3 separate regions of the Homo sapiens genome follow, and regions 1 and 3 are each linked to region 2. The links are contacts of gene promoters, found by promoter capture Hi-C in human tissues and cell types (Jung and others, 2019). All regions are on one chromosome and are shown on one strand. Each heading gives the region's core, a stretch centred on a gene start or on the middle of the fragment in contact. The rest is flanking DNA. Distances are from core to core; before and after follow the strand shown. Region 1 has its middle 26 kb from the start of RECK. Region 2 holds the start of FAM221B (family with sequence similarity 221 member B). Region 3 overlaps TLN1 (talin 1).

Evidence for each region. The method cuts DNA at HindIII sites, captures the fragments that hold promoters and counts their contacts. A contact is called where the count stands out against the background at its distance.
Region 1: a contact is called between a fragment that was not itself captured here and the fragment with the promoter of FAM221B in region 2, in 2 of the 25 tissues and cell types used here (adrenal gland and mesenchymal stem cells).
Region 3: a fragment that was not itself captured here is called in contact with the fragment with the promoter of FAM221B in region 2 in 1 of the 25 tissues and cell types used here (liver).

The regions. Positions count from the first base shown.
Region 1 is chr9:36,008,661-36,013,314 of GRCh38, reverse strand. It overlaps the pseudogene OR2S1P. Among named protein-coding and RNA genes, the nearest start is that of RECK, 26 kb to the left of the region's middle. The HindIII fragment of the contact is 7,446 bases long and covers 1-4,654 here.
Region 2 is chr9:35,826,212-35,830,692 of GRCh38, reverse strand. It overlaps FAM221B (family with sequence similarity 221 member B), which reads left to right and starts at 1,961. Exons shown (of 7, transcript NM_001012446.4): 1 at 1,961-2,230. TMEM8B (transmembrane protein 8B) reads right to left here and starts at 1,465. Exons shown (of 13, transcript NM_001042590.4): 1 at 738-1,465. The coding sequence starts at 1,245. RefSeq lists enhancers at 373-873, 4,237-4,481 and a silencer at 1,159-1,608. The HindIII fragment of the contact is 23,285 bases long and covers 1-4,319 here.
Region 3 is chr9:35,693,636-35,698,201 of GRCh38, reverse strand. TLN1 (talin 1) reads left to right here. Exons shown (of 57, transcript NM_006289.4): 56 at 30-158; 57 at 286-1,254. The coding sequence ends at 411. Among named protein-coding and RNA genes, the nearest start is that of TPM2, 6.0 kb to the right of the region's middle. The HindIII fragment of the contact is 3,222 bases long and covers 1,492-4,566 here.

The DNA of each region.
Region 1 (4,654 bases), core at 982-3,481, 180 kb before region 2:
CCGTTGCCCAGCAGGATCACCAGGTACACCAGCAGGATGAACACAAAGAATGTCTTCTCCAGCTATGGGTGGGCAGAGAGGCCCAGGAGAACGAACCCCAACACAGGGGAGGCCTCATTGGACCTGTTCATGGTGCATCTGCTCTGTCACCTGGAGGAACTCAGAGGTCAACCTCAGCATCCTCTTACTCCAAAAGTACCTGGAAGGCCAGGCACAAATCCTTGCCCTGCTGAGCAACTGGAGAATAGCGCTGATGATTTGTTCATCTCTATGGGGTTCTAGGAACAATGTAGTACAGGTCAATATTTAACTTCTGCTTCTGGTAAGAACAAACAGGCTAATTTGGACTAACTGTCTTGCAGATGACCATTAGACAAACTGGAAAAAATACATAAAACATTGGAGAAGTAATAAGACAATGAGGAACATAGGGTTATGACTCTGGGGAAAAACAAGGACCTAGAGATGTAAGTCTAGCACTTGTGGCTGTGATTCAACTCGAGCATTTGCAGCTTCTGGAGGGAGCCAGGGAGAGGCTGGGAAGCATTACTGACAGCCTCATGGAGATGGGGAGTAAGTTTTGTTGTGAAAGACTCACCTTGAAAGGCCCCTCACTAAATGTTCTCCTTTTGGGATGGACTCTCAAAGGGCAGCACCATAGGAATAAGGGCAAATCAGAAGGAAACAGACATTTACAGATGCTGTAGTTCAGCTTCAAATCTTCCCAAGCCCTGAAATCGAATTGAGGTGATACCAAGTTTTGATGCTCCCAAATGCCTCACAGAAGCCAACATAGATCCACTTTGGAGGAAGATAACATCACCCTAGTCTCTAAATCATTTCCACAAATAATTTTGCAAACACAACATCTGGCACACACTAAAAAAGAATAAGGCACACAAGGAGACAAGAAAACAAATCAAAACTAACAGAAAAAAAGCAACAACAGAAAATAAAGCGTCTCCTGGGGCATGTAGCAGCCAAGAGGACAGCTCTAGTGGCACCTGCCTAGACAGCAAGCCCCGGGCACCCCGACACATCCGGTGCCAAGGTCTCAACATTTGGTTGATCCTTTTGTACATCTGTGGCAGCAAGTAGGCCCCTGTGCCCCATGGCCAAGTTGAATGACAGTTCCAACTGAACCTCCCGTCTTCTCTTCATTCTCCATTGCCTGCGGCAAAGGCATTAACTTGTTCCTGAGACTGTTCACAGAACCCTGGGTCCTGCTCTGTTACTTTTTTATTTAATGGAAAGGTTAAATCTCTCTTGACAAAGATTCTCAGATTTTCCAAACTTTGGCCAGGCATCTGAACCTTCTTCTAGGTACATCTGTGTCCTTGCTTATAAAATTCAGTTTCAGCAAAAAGCCCTGCTAAGTCAGTTCAGCAAGAACCCCCCTCCTCAATATCTGGTCATCTTCAATGTTTGATGAGGTTCCTCATCCTCCACCATCCCCAGGTGATGTCTGATTACCCTGTCCTCTCTTCAGCAAGAATTCTGTTAGGTCCATTTAGCCAGAATCCCCGTTACCCCCGATGCTTCTTCTTAGTAATTTTCTATCTACCTACCTCCAGCCCCCTCCTTGGCTAAAAATTCCCACTTGTGCCTGCTGTATTTGGAGTTGAGCCCAATTTCTCTCCCTCACTGCAAAATCCCATGGCAGTGGTCCCTATACATGTTGAGATAGTCCTGAATAAAGTCTGCTTTGCCGTGCTTTAACAAGTACTGATGAATCATTGTTTCCTCAACACTCCTCAGACTTCGAAGTGCTTCTCAAACTATGATTTGTTCTGGACCAGTAAAAAACTTGTAGGCAACTGAGCACTACAGTTTTATTAGAACTGTATCTAAAATACTTACAAACTTCCCAGATATCTATCTTTCCAAGAGCTCTCAGTAATCCAACCCCCTCCTCTGTTGTTGCAGCGATGCTTCCTGCCTCACGAGCTCCGAGATACTCCTATGTTGGTGGTTAGCACATTATAGCTGTGACCAAGTCAGTGCCATAATAATTCAGGTCAGGTTAACAGATATTTGTTGAGCGTCTACTCTGGGCCAGGCATAATTCTAGGTGCTGGGAACAAAGAGCTCAAAATCTAGTGGGGAAATAGTCATGCAAACAAATGCTTTCATCATCATCATCATCATCAACCATAACAATTACTTGAATGCTAAGGACAACAGGTCTTAGGGTCTATTTAGTAATTGCCCCCTTTCTAATGCAGAAAGCCCCTTACCACATTCCTGATAGTCCTAGAACCTAGATTTGACTATCTGAGTGATGTGAGGTTCTTTATCTCCTGGTAAGGCTCACTTCATTTTGAAGTAGTTACCCTGTGATATTGAGCTGAAATCTGTCTCCTTGCAACTTCTACCTGGCCTTGTCTTCTGGAGCCCCTAAAGGCAGTTAATCTCTCTTACACACAACTGCCTAAATATCTAGAAATAGTATGGTTTCAGCACGAAGATAAATAAGAATAAATCTCCCTTTTTCTCTTAAGGTCTTAAAAAAGTAGATATATCTCTTAGAGGCAAATGTATCAACCAGGAGCTCGCTACAAAGGCTGACACTAAGAATGGTCCCCAAGCTTGAGGATGGCTGAGGTGCCCGAGACACGCTGCTGCTGGGATGTGTGTGTTGGGCAGTGTATCAGTCCCCAGCTGGGTTTCTCACTGTAGGCTGGCCAGCCAACTCTCAAGAACCTGCAGATCATATGAAGAAAATATTCCCTCTATGTCATCATTATCAGATTCAGAAACATGCTTATTATTATTGCCAGACTTTGTATCTAACTATGAAGTGAGAAAGAGCCCAACAGTTTTTATCAAGAAAGGACAACCAATCGTGAGAAGGACTACCAGCTGTATGGTCCCTGGCAAGCCCCCATTTCCTCAGCATGATGGCAGGGTGAGGCCAGATGATCTCAGACATTCTTGCAGGTTGAGGAGGTCTATTTGATTTTGTGAGAATAATATCATACCAATGAAACAGCTTCACATCTGCCCTCCTCAAGCCCCCATTCCATTACAATCAAGTCTGATGATAGAAATGTAACCATGCTGTTGATTAATGGGTGAAAATATATGGTTTGATCGAAGGAATAAGACCTAGTGTTCAATAGGTCAGGAGGGTGACTATAGTTTACAATAAGCTACTATACCTTTCAAGATGGCTAGAAGAGAATAATTCAAATATTTCTAGCATAAAGACAAATGTTTAAAGTCATGGATATCCCAACTACACTGACTTGATCCTTGCAGATTATATGAATGTATTAAATTATCACATGTACCTTAAAACCATGTATATCTATTATGTATCAATAATAGATATTATGTATCTATTATGTATATCTATTATGTATCAATTTATTTAAAAAATAAATATAGCCAATGCTAATGAAAATTGTGGAATTCCTTTCACCAAAACTTGCCCTTACTTTTATAAAAAAACATCATGAGCAAGAATGATCGATTTTCCAAGGTTTGGAAAGAGGCTACATGTCAGAAACAGTGACACTGGGTCTGAACGCCAGGGTGAGGGCTCAGGACATGTGACAGGTGAAGGGTCCTTTCTGCTTCTCCTGCCTCATGTGCTTGGGGCACAATCTCCAAAGGACTGGCCATCACCCTTAGAAGATAATTTAAATTGCAGTTTATTCTTTGGGACCATTGTAGACCCTGAAGTCATTTAAGGTTTGGAAAGTGAGTTGTACTCAGTTTAGAAACTTTCTATCCTTCTGGGATAACATCCCCAAGAACAAATTATGTTGGCAGCACTGGAGGAAGTCAGCTGTCTGCTTCTTCTCCCCCTTCTTCTCTCCCTTCCTCTTTCCCTTCCTTCTTTCCTTGTCCCCTTTCTTTCTTTCTGAACATCATAATCTCATTAACAGGGTCCAACAATCTGTGGGTTAGTGATTCCAGGATTCATTCAAAGCCCAGGTGCTTTCTCCTGTGCTGCAGCCGAGCCCCGTCACCCCCAGTCTGTGCTTACGCAGTGGCTTGGGGCATCTGACTGAAAGACCTTTACTCTCCCTCTAAATGTTCATCTCATTGGATTAAACACCTTGAAGCAACCTGCTGTGTTCTGCCTCAATCCTCACTGGGCACCCAAGTCACTGTCCTTTCAGCTTCCTGTCATCTGTGCACGTGCTCCCAGACCTCTTACGAGTCATGGACAGAATGTGACCCAGGACAGGGATGAGTCTAGAGAATGGGGACATTCCTTTATTCAGCAAACAATTATTGAGCGTATGCTCCATAAAAGGCAGAAATGTGTAGAGTAACCCAGGGTCCATGCCCTCTGGGAGTGCATCCTCTAGCGGCAAAAGGCAGAAATGTGCAGAGTAACCCAGGGTCCCTGCCTTCTGGGAGTGCACCCTCTAGTGGCGAGAAAGAGGCACATGAAAAAAATACAGTTGACCCTCGAACAGCGCGGGGATTAGGGCGCCGATCCCCATTGCAGTTGAAAATCCCCAAAACAACTACTAATAGCCTATTGTTAGACTGAATGCCTAATCGATAACATAAACAGTAGATAAACACATATTTTGTATGTTAAATGTATTATTATACTGTATTCTCATAATAAAGTAAGCTAGAGAAAAGAAAATATTAAGAAAATCATGCTGGGTGCAGTGGCTCATGCCTGTAA
Region 2 (4,481 bases), core at 712-3,211:
TTTCTATTAAGTATACATTGCAGTGGATAAAAAAAAACACACTAGTATGAAATAGGAATTAGGAAACCTTTTTTCTAGCCCCAGCACACTGCCATTCACAAGCTCTCTGACTTTGGACAAATTGCTCCCTCCCTGAGCCTCAGTTTCCCCATCTGTAAAATAGCCTCCGAGTTTCAGCCCTGCTCTAAAAGTATCAGGAATTATTCCTAGGCAAATCAATCTTCTTTGGAACAAGAATCATTACAAGAAGAAAACTCATTATAATGGCAACTAATCCATATTCATCTATTTGCTACATATTATCTTTAAAACTCTTCTTCATGCCGTTTGAATGCATGCCCAATATCTCAAAGGTTTGGGCTATATATTCCCACACTACACTAGGGGCTTCTGGTGTGGGACTGTCTCTCCCCCATCAAACTTTGTGAGCAGGAGCAAAGCCCACAACATTTCCCTGGAAAAGCAAGAGTCAAAGTGGGGTCAGGACAGACACCAGAAAAAATCTTGGAGTCTCTGTGCTAGAAACTGTAAGCCACCTGCTGAGCCTCAAACCCAATTAATTACCACTCTTTTGACCCTGCCAATCCCTGTTGTGTAAGACCTCTCTACTCTCTATTTCTCCCACTTGCTCCCCAATGATCTAGTTCCCCAGGTCCCACCTCTCCTGAATCTCTCCAGCCCACCCCTCCCTGCCGGAACCCCATTCCTGCCTCAATCTTCCCTGCTTCTGCACTCACCAGCCCCTGGGCCAAGGACAGAGAACAGCAACAGCAGCAATAGGGCTGGCGGCAGCTGAAACCCAGACTTGAGTCTAGGCTGGGAGAGGGGCAGAGTATGAGAGATAGGGGGGACTAGAGGGAGAGACTTGGGTAAACACAGAGATGAGGGCAAAGGCTGAGATAATGGGTTGGGCTGGGCTGGACACTGGGGCTTGAACAAGGGCAGGGAGTGGGATGGAAGGAAGGGCTGTGATGGGGACTGCAGCAAGGGACGGGGTTGAGCCAGGGCCTTAAGCAAACACTGGGAATGGGGCTGGGACAGGGCCTGGGCTGGGATTTGTGACAGGGGGTGGAACGAGGGCCGAGGCCGGGATGGGGGCCAGGCCAGGGGCAGAGACTGGAAGGGGGTCCTGGATGGGGACCCAGGCAGGGGCTGGGGCCGATGTGGGAAGCGGGGCGAGGGCGGGGCTGGGGGCCAAGGCGGGGATTGGGATAGGACGAGGGGCCGGGACAAGGGCTGGGCCATGGCCCGGGGCGGGGGCGGGGCCGGACAGGCCAGCGCGGGGCGCTCGCAGAGCTGGCCCGCGGCTCCGCTCCCCACCCCCGGGGGGTGGCCTCCGGTGTCCTCGCGGGCCCGGGGCGGGGGCCGGGGACCTGGGTAGGAGTTCAGGCCTGGGCGACTCCGGGCTGCGCTGAACCGGCGATAACCAGGCCCCGCGGCGGCGGCCTCGACTTGACGTCGGCGTGACGCCCCGCCCCCCGGCCGGCTCGATTGGTCCCTGTCAGTAAAGCCCGCCCCCGCCCTACTCTATTGGTCCCCAACTTAGTCCTGCTGGGCTTCGAGGACACACAGACTCCGCCCCCGCCTCAGCTACCCGAGACCCTGCCTTTCTCACCCCAAGCACAGAGCCCGAGGTCCCCTCAGATCCTCACAGCCCCCAACGACCGCCCCACAGATGTCTCAAAGGAACCCTATCCTCACAATCCCAGACTCCCCCGGACGTACGCACAGATCTCCGCAGATCCTACCCAAACACTCGCTCACAGAGATCCCGCAACACACACCCCACTTTTCAGAAGTAAACCCTCTGGGCTCGCCCCCTCGAGGCCCAATGCAAGCCCCTCAGGAGACCTTACCCACCGGGGAGGTGACCAGACCGCCGTTGCCACGGAGACTACTAGGCGTTCCGGTTGCCCTGGTGACCGGCGCCTACTCTCCTGGCCCGGGTTCCGGAGGCTTCAGTCAAGACCCTCCCTCATTGGCCCTAGACCCCTTGTCCCTACCCACTTCCCCAGGTCATGCCAGAGCTCCTTTGCGAAGTTCTGCAGATATCCAAGTCCCCTTCCCAGATAGCAGACTTTCAGGCAAGGCATTTCAACACTCAGCACCTGCAGCTGAGGCACATCCACAACCAAGAGCCTTTCCTCCCTGAGGATCAACACCTCCCCCTGCCATCCTAAGTCAAGGTCTTGACCTAAGGACTTGTAACAACCAAGCCAAAGCCCAGAGGGTAGGTGGTTTCTCCAACGGCCCTTGCCCTCTTCCCTCAAAGACATCTGTCTTTCTCCCACCCCTCAGTCCCTTCACATTGTTGTAGTAGTAGTAGTAGTAGTAGTAGTAGTAGTAGTAGTAGTAGTAGTTGTTGTTGTTGTTGTTGTTGTTGTTGTTGTTGTTGTTGTTTGAGACAGAGTCTCGCTCTGTCCCCCAGGCTGGAGTGCAGTGGTGCGATCTGGGCTCACTGCAACCTCCGCCTCCCAGGTTCAAGTGATTTGCTTGCTTCAGCCTCCCCAGTAGCTGGGACTACAGGCGCCTGCCACCATGCCCAGCTAATTTTTGTATTTTTAGTAGAGACTGGGTTTCACCATGTTGGCCAGGCTGGTCTCGAACTCCTGACCTCAAGTGATCCACCCGCCTTGGCCTCCCAAATTCTGGGATTACTGGCATGAGCCACCATGCCTGGCCCACATTCTGTACTTTTCATCCTTACTCTCCTCCTCCACCCAATTTCCTCCTCCCCTTCTCTTTCCCCTTCCTCACCTCCCATCTTCTGGTTCTCCACTCTTAGGCCCCTTTTCTCTCTAGCTGACTCTGGTCATCTTCCTCCCTGTAATCCTACCTCTGCCCCTAATTCCCTTCCCAAACATCCCCTTCAAAAAGGCTCTGATGCATTTAAGGAGTGATATATCTAGCGTCTCTGGAACATGGGGGTAAAGTAGGGAGCACGGAAAGTTAAGGCAGGAATCCTCAGGCTGTGTTGAAAATGATGACAGGCCTTGAATGCCAGGGCCAAGAAATTTGGACTTAATCCTTTAGACTGAGTCATGGAATGTTTTTAAGCCACAAAGTGCCAGTTGTTGGGCTTGCACTTTAGAAAGATCCTGATTGGGTCAGGAAGGAGGACTACATCCTTGCAGGATAAATTAGGTATATCCCCCTCCCCACCGTATCCTAGACTCACCCCAGAACAACATCAATTTATTTGTATTGCCATTGTTGGTTAATCGGTCTCTCTCCTAGACTCAACTCAATCTAGAGCTTAGCACAGCGGGTCAGTAAAAGCATCAGATTAGGCTCATTGTAAAAGTATAAGTTACATAAATCCATGAAAGAATGGGTGAATGGATTAAAATGCTGTGGATGGAAGTAGAGGGGCAAAGTTATTACACAAAGGCTGAAGATGATGAGAACTTGAATAAAATTGGAAGGGAGAGGAGAGAATGCATTTGGGGAATATTTAGAAGATAGGAAATAGAGTTATTGGTGCCTATTTGAAGATGGAGTCTAAGGGAAAAGGAAAAGACTAGGATAATTCCCAAAGTTCAGTTTTGCTGTCTGTGGAAACACTCAGTTAGAAATGACCAGCAGGGGCCAAGCACGGTGGCTCACTCCTGTAATCTCAGCACTTTGGGAGGCCAAGCAGGGCAGATCACCTGAGGTCAGGAGTTCAAGACCAGCCTGACCAACATGGTGAAACCCCGTCTCTACTAAAAATATAAAACTTAGCCGGGCATGGTGGCACACGCCTGTAATTCCAGCTACTTGGGAGGCTGAGGCAGGAGAATCACTTGAACCCGGGAGGCGGAGGTTGCAGTGAACCGAGATTGCGCCACTGCACTCCAGTCTGGGCAACAGAGCGAGACTCCATCACAAAAAGAGAAGAGAAGAGAAGGCCAGCAGGCAGGTGGGTATGAGTGTGAAGTACAGAGGTTGAAAAAGGTCTGAGCTAGAAATGTGAATTTAGGAGTCATTGGTACACAACTGGAAGTAGTTAAAGCTTTGAACATGAATGACATCATTAAGGGAGGAGGATGTGTGTGGTGCCTAGACAAAACCAGGCTGCGTGCAGTGTCTTGCCTTATGTGACAGCATTCCCCTGCACTCTCAGGAGCCAACCCCAACTTTGGCTTGGTATTGCCAGTCTCTAGAACTCCATGGTCTGACCTCCAGGGTTTTAAGATATGCCAAGGACCCTGCTCTTGGACTGCCCAAGTGGTGTTGTTCAGACTCCCTCCTGGGACATGGTTCTCTGCTACCATCTACTGATGGGATTCGAACTACTTCAGTCTTTCAATCTTTAAGTTCCAGCTCCCTAACAAGCCACAGCAGCATGCCATATGAGGTCTGGACACATGGGTGAACCTTTTGGCATCACACTCTAGGACCCAGAGTTCATGTTGTTTCCCTCTTATATCTCAGCTGCACTGATATCCTTATCCAAATTCCATAATGCACTGCGAACCCTGGGCTCTGCCCTGACTTGC
Region 3 (4,566 bases), core at 1,853-4,352, 130 kb after region 2:
TCAACCTAGGCCACTTTCTCTCTGCCCAGGCTGCTGGCAACGCAGTGAAGCGAGCCTCAGATAATCTGGTGAAAGCAGCACAGAAGGCTGCAGCCTTTGAAGAGCAGGAGAATGAGACAGTGGTGGTGAAAGAGAAGATGGTTGGCGGCATTGCCCAGGTGAGCTTCACCCCAGATGCTGAGGGACGCTGTCAGGAGGGCAGTCATGTTGCCTGCGCTGGTCCCAACTACCCTATGCCCCTGCTGTGCATCCTCACTGAACTAAGTCCCCGATCTCCACCCTCAGATCATCGCAGCACAGGAAGAAATGCTTCGGAAGGAACGAGAGCTGGAAGAGGCGCGGAAGAAACTGGCCCAGATCCGGCAGCAGCAGTACAAGTTTCTGCCTTCAGAGCTTCGAGATGAGCACTAAAGAAGCCTCTTCTATTTAATGCAGACCCGGCCCAGAGACTGTGCGTGCCACTACCAAAGCCTTCTGGGCTGTCGGGGCCCAACCTGCCCAACCCCAGCACTCCCCAAAGTGCCTGCCAAACCCCAGGGCCTGGCCCCGCCCAGTCCCGCAGTACATCCCCTGTCCCCTCCCCAACCCCAAGTGCCTTCATGCCCTAGGGCCCCCCAAGTGCCTGCCCCTCCCCAGAGTATTAACGCTCCAAGAGTATTATTAACGCTGCTGTACCTCGATCTGAATCTGCCGGGGCCCCAGCCCACTCCACCCTGCCAGCAGCTTCCGGCCAGTCCCCACAGCCTCATCAGCTCTCTTCACCGTTTTTTGATACTATCTTCCCCCACCCCCAGCTACCCATAGGGGCTGCAGAGTTATAAGCCCCAAACAGGTCATGCTCCAATAAAAATGATTCTACCTACAACCTCTGCCTGGCTTCAAGGGAGATACAAGTTTTCTCCCAGGGCAGTAGGAGAGACAGTGGGGTTGAATTCTGTCACCCAGCTTGATCCAGCTTGAAATGGGAGAGGGGAAGACTGGCAGTCTGCACCTGAGGTCCCTTCCTCCTTGCACCCGGACCCTAAAGTTATCCAATGGGGAAGTTGTGCCTGAGAAGTCATACTCCTGTTATCCTCACCTCCCTGGCCAGCACCTAAGCCTCACAAAGTGTCGTTCTGCTGCTGCTGGGACAGCAGCTACCACAGTTCCTTGTGGCTACCAGGACATTCTGTTCTTCATAGCTACTCAGGGTATGTCAACAAATCCAGTCCTTGACCAAATTCAAATTTTCAAAAGAAGCTTTGCTAAAAATAATATGCCTGTAAGTGTCTGAGCCTAAGAGAACTATGGCCACAAAACTGATTGAAGCCATTAGCAAGCAGAAAAATCCCAACTTGAGGCTGCCTCGGGTAGGCACCGCTCTTGATTGGGTTGGGACACTCCTGCCTAGGGTAGCGCTAAAAGTGAAGAGCTTGACCCAGGTGTGAGAATTTATTGTTAGAGGGGGCAGAGCTCCCCTAGTGGCCAGGAAGGTGCTAGCAGCCCTGTTCCAGCCACCCTGCTTATCTGGTGGGTCAGTGGAAAGAGGCAGTCAGAGAGGTGGATGCTGTGTGCTTCCACGTCCCCATCCAGCCACTCTGTCCATAATGCATGGACTCTCTGACAGTCGTCTTAGGTTGGCAACTATTTTCATGCGTGATTCTTTAGTCAGCCCTACCGCCCAGTACATTATTTCCTCAAGTAGAACACAAACGCCACCCATCTGCTACTAACACCTTCTACTCCCACCACATTAGGGAAAGCTTGAAGTAGATGGAATGTAGCTGGTAACGGTGGTTCGAGCCTCTAATCCCAGCTACTTAAAAGGCTGAGGCAGGAGGACTGCTTGAGACCAGGAGTTCAAGGCTGCAGTGAGCTATGATGGTGCCACTGTGCACCAGCCTGGGTGACGGAGTGAGAGCCCTTCTCTAAGAAAGTAGATGGAACTCTAGGACAGCCCATTAGGGATGGTGCCAACCTCCTACCATCACTCCTATCACCTGTGATTCATTCATTCAATATTTACTAAGCCATGCTTGTGCTAAGCACTGGAAAATTGAGATGTATTATCACTTCTCTGACGCAGAGGACTGGCAACTCCAGTACATACTGTGGGGGCTCCCTAATCCCAGATTCAATGTCATAGTATCAGTTGAGGACCTTGGAGATCAAATCCCTTCTATAACCTCCCCGACAAGTGGCAGTCTAGACTTTGAACTCCAGCTAGGAGCCCAGGACAGCTGCTTACTCCTGTTACCATTTCCTTGTCATGTCCTCAGGAACTGGGACCAATCACATACTTCTCACTAGTGATACCTTGGGAGCCATCTGGGGAGAGGCTTTAAAACCTATTAAACCAGCAGCTCTTCAAATGTGGTCCTCAGACCCCTAGGGTTCCCTAAGACCTTTTCAGGGGTCCATAGGTCAAAATTATTTTCATAAAAATACCAAGACATTATTTTCCTTAGCTGGGGATGGTGGTGCACACCTGTAATTCCCAGCTACTTGGGAGGCTGAGGCACCAGAATTGCTTGAACCTGTGATGCGGAGGTTGCAGTGAGCCAAGATCACGCCACTGCACTCCAGCCTGGGCAACAGAGCAAGACTCAAAAAAAATGTCCTTGATGAAGTAAAAAAAAAAAATTTTTTTTTTTTTTTGAGACGGAGTCTCGGTCTGTAGCCCAGGCTGGAGTGTAGTGGCGTGATCTCGGCTCACTGCAACCTCCACCTCCTGTGTCCCGGTTCAAGCAATTCTCCTGCCTCAGCCTCCCGAGAAGCTGGGATTACAGGCACATGCCATCATGCCCAGCTAATTTTTGTATTTTTAGTAGAGACAGGGTTTCACCATGTTGGCCAGACTGGTCTTGAACTCCTGACCTCATGATCTGCCTGCCTCAGGCTCCCAAAGTGCTGGGATTACAGGCGTGAGCCACCACGCCCAGCCTAAATGTATTAATTTAATTAAACCTTAATCCTTAAGGAAAAGGCTTTTCAACATTCTGTCTGATAAAGTGGGAAGTATGCATAAGACATTTTGCATACCAAAGTATGATGGTTTTCTGGAGGAAATAACTTAGGCCATTCTTTGAGTTGTGAGCTGAACTAGCTGCTCTTTTATGGAATGCCACGTTTACTCAAAAGAATGGCCGACAAACTGTGGTTATCAGATTTAGGTAGCTGGCAGAACTTTTCTAAAAAGGAACAAAGTGAGTCTGTCACTTCAGGGAAAAATCTGACAGTGTTTGTTGCCAATGATATAATTCAAGCTTTCAAGTGAAAAATCGAATTTTGGAACACTTGTATTTGCTACATGAGCTTCACAGCTTCCCAAAATTTAAAACTTAAAGACTTTACTGTTCTCCAGTATAATACTATGAAGAAAAACAAAGACTTTACTGTTGAAACCTATTGTGATTTTTTTAAAATTTATTTATTTATTTATTTATTTATTTTTGAGACAGAGTCTCGCTCTGTTCCCCAGGCTGGAATGCAGTGGTGCAATCTCAGCTCACTGCAACTTCCACCTCCCAGGTTCAAGCAATTCTCCTGCCTCAGCCTCCTGAGTAGCTGGGACTACAGGCGCCCGCCACCACACCCAGCTAACTTTTTGTATTTTTAGTAGAGACAGGGTTTTGCCATGTTGCCCAGGCTGGTCTCGAACTCCTGAGCTCAGGCAATCCACCCACCTCGGCCTCCCAAAGTGCTGGGATTACAGGTATGAGCCACCGCACCTGGCCTGAAACCTATTGTGATTTTTAAAATAATGTATAATGAAACATTAATATTTGGAAGATTTGCATAGCTCAGTGAATCAATTATTTTCCATATGACGAATGCACGGTGTTACAAAATTATGCATGGGTAAAAGATCCAATCAGGTGCAGTTCAGAAAAACGGATTTTTTTTTTTTTTTTGAGACAGAGTCTTGCTCTGTCACCCAAGCTGGAGTGCAGTGGTGCAATCTCGGCTAACTGCAACCTTCGCCTCGCAGGTTCAAGTGATTCCCCTGCCTCAGCCTCCCGAGTGGCTGGGATTACAGGCGTGTGCCACCACCACACCTGACTAATTTTTGTAGTTTTAGTAGAGACGGGAGGGTTTCACCATGTTGGCCAGGCTGGTCTCGAACTCCTGACCTCAGGTGATCCACCCACCTTGGCGTCACAAAGTGCTGGGATTACAGGCGTGAGCCACCACACTTGGCCAAAACAACGGATTTTAGTTTAACAGTACAAAAAGGTCACTGATATGGTTTCACATTCTACATTGCAACTGCCCCTTAAGAAACTGCCAATTATCGGCCAGGCACAGTGGCTCAGGCCTGTAATTCCAGCACTTTGGGAGGCTGAGGCAGGAGGGTAGCTTGAGCCTAGGAGTTTGAGACCAACCTAGGCAACATAGTGGCACACCATCTCTATTTAAAAAAAAAAAAAAAAGGGCCGGGTATGATGGTGCACATGTGTAGTCCCAGCTACTGGAGGAGACTGAGGCGGAGAGAGCACTTGAGCCCAGAAGGTCAAGGCTGCAGTGAGCCAAGCCGTGATTGTGTCTCTGCACTACAGCCTGGGTGACAGAGCCAGACCTTGTCTC